Linked DNA regions of Homo sapiens: region 1 is linked to region 2. Evidence: promoter capture Hi-C in human tissues and cell types (Jung and others, 2019). All regions are on one chromosome and are shown on one strand. The core of a region is centred on a gene start or on the middle of the fragment in contact, and the rest is flanking DNA. Distances in the headings are between cores, read along the strand shown.

What was found. Contacts are between HindIII fragments. The study calls those that stand out against the background at their distance.
Region 1: a fragment that was not itself captured here is called in contact with the fragment with the promoter of CHRM5 in region 2 in 2 of the 25 tissues and cell types used here (H1 embryonic stem cells and mesenchymal stem cells).

Annotation. Positions count from the first base shown.
Region 1 is chr15:33,888,443-33,891,920 of GRCh38, reverse strand. All of the region lies in intron 2 of AVEN (apoptosis and caspase activation inhibitor), which reads left to right. Among named protein-coding and RNA genes, the nearest start is that of CHRM5, 78 kb to the left of the region's middle. The HindIII fragment of the contact is 5,335 bases long and covers 1-3,478 here.
Region 2 is chr15:33,967,105-33,970,309 of GRCh38, reverse strand. CHRM5 (cholinergic receptor muscarinic 5) reads right to left here and starts at 1,813. Exons shown (of 3, transcript NM_012125.4): 1 at 1,160-1,813. All of the region lies in intron 2 of AVEN (apoptosis and caspase activation inhibitor), which reads left to right. The HindIII fragment of the contact is 2,452 bases long and covers 774-3,205 here.

The DNA of each region.
Region 1 (3,478 bases), core at 141-2,640, 78 kb after region 2:
ATGGCGATCATTAAGAAGTCAGGAAACAACAGATGCTGGAGAAGATGTGGAGAAATAGGAATGCTTTTACTTTGTTGGTGGGAGTGTAAATTGGTTCCACCATTGTGGAAGACAGTGTGGTGATTCCTCAAGGATCTAGAACTAGAAATACCATTTGACCCAGCCATCCCACTACTGGGTATATACCCAAAGGATTATAAATCATTCTACTATAAAGACACATGCACACCTATTTTTATTGTGGCACTGTTCACAATAGCAAAGACTTGGAACCAACCCAAATGTCCATCATTGATAGACTGGATTGAGAAAATGTGGCACATATACACCATGGAATACTATGCAGCCATAAAAAGGATGAGTTCATGTTCTTTGCAGGGACATGAATGAAGCTGGAAACCATCATTCTCAGCAGACTATCACAGAAAACCAAACACCACATGTTCTTATTCACAGGTGGGAACTGAACAATGAGAACACTTGGACACAGACAGGGAGGGGAACATCATACACCAGGGCCCGTCAGGGGGTGGGGGACTGGGGGAGGGATAGCATTAGGAGAAATACCTAATGTAAATGACGAGTTAATGGGTGCAACAAACCAACATGGCACATGTATACCTATATATCAAACCTGCACGTTGTGCACATGTGCCCTAGAACTTAAAGTATAATAAAAACAAACCATTAAAAAATAGTTAATACAATATAAAACAAAATTTCTGTGGGGATAAATTTCTAAAGCTTGCTTATTACCAACAAGGGGAATGTTTAAAAGCCAGACATTTTAGTATATCTTTTAGGATTTTTTTTTTTTCCAGACAGAGTCTCACTCTGTTGCTGGAGTGCAGTGGTGTGATCTCGGCTCACTGCAACCTTCGCCCCCTGGCCTCAAGCAATCCTCTCATCTCAGCCTCTCAAGTAGCTGGGACTACACATGTGCACCACCACGCTCCGCTAATTCTTTAAATTTTTGGTAGTGATGAGTTCTCACTATGTTGCCCAGGCTGGCCTCAAATTTCAGGGCTCTCATGATCCTCTTCAGCCTCCCAAAGTGCTGGGATTACAGCTGTGAGCCACCATGCTTGGCCAGTTTTACCTTTGTAATGGTCATGTTCATAGCTCATCAGCTAGTAAGTTTGCACTGTTCACTTGTCTTGGATAGTGGTAATTGCTGGAATATTACATTTTGAGATCCATCCTTAGTTTCTTTTCATCTTTCTCCCTTTTTGAGAGTGGTTTAAGAAAATTCTAATTGAAGATCTCTGCCATTTTTTTCTCCTTCCCACTTGTTCTTATTTGAGTTATTTGATTTACTAGAAATTTCTGGTTGCAAACAGAATTCTGTATTTTACATTTTTGCCCTATACTTTTGGCAAGCTTCATGAAAGTAACATGATTTCCCCCCTTATTTCTCTGTTTCCTTATCCCCTTTATGGCACATAGACTACTGATGTTCATTTGTTGATTTTGTTTAGCCTTGTATTCTTGTTCGTTTGCTCATTTATTCTTGCATGCATATATTTACGCATTATTATTTCCCTCCTTCCTAAATGCACATTTACTAACTGCCTACTGTGTGCCAGGCACCGCACCAGTCACAAGAGTAGTAATAAAAACTGGGCTCTGACAGTTAACAGTGCTTTACTGAAGATGTGTACATTGCAGAAATCATGTTGGCTTTGTGTGGAGCTAGGCAGCATCGAGCCCCAACTAAGATAAGATCACTATATACCTCAGACTACTGAACATATAATGTGTATTATCCCTTGAGGAAGTAAAAAAACCAGAAAACCAAAAAATGTTTTGCATCAATGAACAAAAACCTAGACACTATCAGTGATGCACAAACATCTCCAGAGAAGATCAGTTTGGCACGTCGGAGAGGGAACTCGCCTTGACACCTTGTGGCCACTTGGTTTTCTGTGAAGTTTGGAATCGGTAGAATGTAGGGTTTGTATCTACCTTGCCGTACCTTGACCCCATTGGTGGAGAGCACATTTGTTTGCACATCATTTTCAGGACCAAGCTTCGAGTCTCCCCTCTAATGGTATGCCCGATTTTCTATAAATGTATGCTGTGACAAGAAGCCACAGCTGCTCCGTTAGTCTCAAAGGACATGACCTGAAAAAGAATAAAAATCAGATTGCACATATTTGCTCTAATTTTTGACAGGAAGGCTAAACAAAACATTTAAAAATTCAAATTACTCTGTATGTCATTTGCCCATTTAAATCACAGCTCTGTAGAATACTGTTTTTCAAAACTAAAAATAAAAGAAAACCTAATGAGATGAGAAGGCAAGTTGGATGCGTATTTTTTTTTGTGCAGAAACATATTTCATGTCCATTGGGTTGAATAGGAGGGGGAAGAGGCAGAGAAACAGATAACTTAAGATTTACATTGTAGTGTCAGACAGGTGTATTCAAGGGACATTATGGACGTCCTAATTAGTCTAATATTATTTTAGAGTTTTCAGCTAAGCTCATAGTGTGCACAAAAACAAACAGAACAGACTCACAAGCCAACAGTGGGGAGAGCAATAAAAGCAAGAAATCTGCTGGATACTTACAGAAATGATCTTGGCATTGGTGGGAAAAGGTTTTGTTATACTGACAGAGATTAAAAGACTAGCATTATTTGAATAATGTGGTTTTAGAGTTTTTGAATTTATATGTCATTTAAAGTCTTTGTAGTACAGCAGTCAAAAAAGATGCCCATTTTTATGATTTTGTTAATAGATTTTTCATGTTTGTATTTAGAAATCTGGAAGATGTTCAAAATATTAAATGATAATTTTCTGAAAGATATTTTCAAGTATATACAAATTAAAATAATAATTTTAAAATATCTGTAAGACGTACATCTCACCTGAGTTATATGAAAATAGCAAAAAAGAATTCCAGGCTGGGTGTGGTGGCTCATGCCTGTAATCCCAGCACTTTGGGAGGCCGAGGCAGGTGGATCACGAGGTCAAGAAATTGAGACCATCCTGGCCAACTTTAGCTGGGCGTGGTGGCATGCGCCTGTAGTCCTAGCTACTTGGGGAGGCTAAGGCAGGAGAATCACTTGAACCAGGGAGTCGGAGGTTGTAGTGAGCCAAGATCGCGCCACTGCACTCCAGTCTGGTGACAGAGTGAGACTCCATCTCACACACACACACACAAAAAAAGAATTCCAAAAGTATTTTCCATAGGCAATTTAAAATTAATATTAATCACACTGGATATAAATAAATATTAAATATATTGACTATAAAACATTAACAATAATTTGATTGGAGTTACATTGACTATAAACATTAATATTGACATCTTTACAGTTGTAAAGTTTCATCCAGGAATGTTCCACTTTTCCATTTATACCTCTGTCCTTATCTTTACCTTGTTCACATTTTATGCTCTAGTAACAGCAAATTGCTTGCACATCCCACAGTACCTGCATTTTCTCCTTTCTGATTTTGGCCCTTCTTTTAGTT
Region 2 (3,205 bases), core at 564-3,063:
AGGTTATTTATAGACTGTCTTGAAAAGCCTGAAGGGATCATATAATTTACTCCCTTAACTAAAATTTGAAAAAAGGAAAGAATTCAGTGAAATGGAAGAGAATTTCTAATTTGACTACTTTTAGACAAGTATTGAATACTTACTTCTGATAACTTTATGTATATTACCACAAGATCTCCGTAGTTAGGTGTGATATGCTCTTGTTTCCCTGTCTCCTCTCTTCTAAGATAATATAAATATTATTTGTTGTAGGACTTCTTTATGATAAGGTGCTTTGGACCTAAGTTTTCCAATGAAACTCATGAAAACCAATGTGGTTGGGATTTCTGCTAAATGATAACGTTTTGTTGTTTTTACATAAGATTGTCACTCTAGAAGTCTCATTATGCAGTGATTTCTAGGGAATTTCTTAAAGGCACTGTATCTTTTAAAATCCTTTGATGGCTTCACTAGTGCTTTGCATTTTACAGTTTGGACCACTGACCTGAGTCAAAGCTTTTGAGGTTTTAAGGTACCAGACATCTTTCATCTTTTTATCCTCTTGTTGAATCAGAAAAATGTCTTCATTTAGTCTGTTATAAAAATGTCTAGTATCTTTAGGATAAATTAGCCCTATCCTACAAGAGTGTTATACCTCGATTTAGTAGAGATTATTTTTCTTTAGTATGAATGAAATGACATCACAGCTTTTTTTTCTTAGTAACAATAGAAATCAGTCATTGAGCTTTTGTTCCTTTATATGAATAAAAATATTTAAAATGCTTATTAATTTTTCTTTGTTTTATCAAGTACTCTGGGAAACTAAGTTCATTTGAATATTGTTGGTAAACATTATCTGTGAATGGCTCTTATGCACCATTCAGGGCTCTCTTCATGCATTTTTTTCAAGCTATTAAATAAAACAAAATTGGGATAAAAATAAAGACAAAGATGAGACAAATTCAATGAAAAATGAATGGGAGTTTTGGATGCTTTATTATCTAGTTCTGAGTGACTTGTTTATGCAGCATAAGTAAAAACAAGCGTTTACCTCAGCTTAAATCTGCAAAAGCTTAAGGAAGGGTTGCAAGAAATTCAAATCCACTATCTCATTCACAGCACGAGCAGATTTAATTTCAGTAGACAAGATATAAATTAAGGTTATAAAATTAAATCTTACCTGGCAGTGGTTTGTTTGAAGCTCAGTAATTTGAACTCTGGCTGGAAATAGTAAGCTTCGAGACCCAAAATGCCTTCTCTACTTTCCTTTCATGTTTTATTTTGCCAGTGTTTTATTTCTTGCAGTGTCTTTATATCTGTATTCCTGATAATCCTGTAGCATTAGTTAGGATAGTATGCGGTAGATGAAGACTCCATTTGGATAGGATTATAGAACCAGAAGGGTGAGTTTTGCCTTTATCTGGTAACAGCAGTTGATCTGATCACAAACAATCTGAGTGTTGAGAACTTATTAAAGATTCATTGAATGCTTCAGCAATGAGAAATCCTGGTTGTTCCTATATGCATTTGACCCCCTGGAAAAGTTCTGCTTGTTCGTATTTCAGAATTACACACGCTTCCAAATCAAGCTGCTTTAAAAAACATTATCTGGACTAGAAGCATGGATGTTCTTGCACTCTTGCTTTCCTTTCTCCATACGAACTTTTCAGTCCATCAGCTTCCTTTCTGTAGAAGATGAAGGCATTTCTTCTGTCCTCCTCATGCTTTTGTAACCCATGCTTCTGGTACCCTGTTTTTTGAATAGTGAGGTAAAAATCCAGAAGGAAGTACGGCTTTATCATGTCTCTGGACGGTGAGCGTACTTGGCATGAATGAAGAGCTGATAGGAGCTATTCAAACCAGACAGCAAACTGATGGGATGACGCTGCCATACATAAAAAACTCATTAATTACTTCCCCTGCTGGACAGCAGTATATCCTGAAAGGAAGAAAGAAAGGAGCAGATGATGATATTCGTTTTGATAGGTGTTCTCTGTTTGAACAGCTTGTCATTGAGAAGAGAATCCAGGAAAAGCTGCAGCTTCAGAGTGTGATCAGGTAGAATGGGCAAGAGTTATTTGACAGACAGTTAAGTGACGTATTTTGGGAGGAAAAAGAGGGCTTAGCATGGAGGTAGCTGGAATAAGGTTCCAAAATGCTTTTGAAAATGTTCATTTTTTCCTGTTAGTCTTTTTGGCTAGAAGCTTTTTTTTTTTTTTTTTTTTTTTTTTAAGCTTTGCTAGGCATTATTCACAGACATGTTGCTGAGTTATTTTCTCATATGGTTTTCCCTAAAGATGGAAAATAATTTTTAAAAGTCTTTGAGATAGAAAGAGTATACTGTGAGTTTTAAATATTTGTAGCAGAGAAAAGGCTGCCTTTTTTTTTTTTCCTAAATGTATGCCTGTTTTTATACATCTTTTGGGCATATGCGTTTTGTTGCTTTGGAGTAAAGCATTATAAGTCCTCATTTGATACAAACTTTTAACAGGGTCTTCATTAAAGCTTTTCCTTAAGTTAGATGAAATCCATATTAGCTGTATAAAAGAATAGATTTTTAAATGTCAATTTCATAATTTTTGCACTTCAGTTTTTAAATTTAAAATTCAAATTTTTAAAACTGCACTTCAGTTTAAAATTTAAATTTTAAATTTAAACGTTTTTTCCCTGCCTGAGTTCTTTATGAGTGTATCTAGACAATATAATGTTTTTAAATTTTAAAAAATTATTATGGAACATTTCAAACTTACACAAAACTCTGAAAAATAATACAAAAATAATACATGAACCTCCAGAAACTCATTACCAAGATTCAACAATTGTCAGATTCAATTCTTTGCTAAAATATTTTAAAGCAAATCTCATTTCACCTATTTGTACTTTAGTATGTATATTTTTAAAGTATGGACACTTTTTCACATGACCCTGTGCCATTATCACACCTAACACATTGGCTATAATCCTCTGGAGTCATATAATATCCAGTTCATTTTAAATTCCTTGTGTCTCAGAAACTATGTCTTTATGTAGGTTTTTTCTGAGTGAGAATCCAGACAAAGTATACACTTTAATTGTTAGCCAATAGAATTTTAAACACTGACAGATGAACATGTATGAGAAAGAAGTGAATTTTAGTTTTATAGTGGTCTTTGACACACATTTGTAATAGGAATATTTATGCAAGAGAACATATCTTTAGAATATTTTCTTGAACTTTTCCCACTTA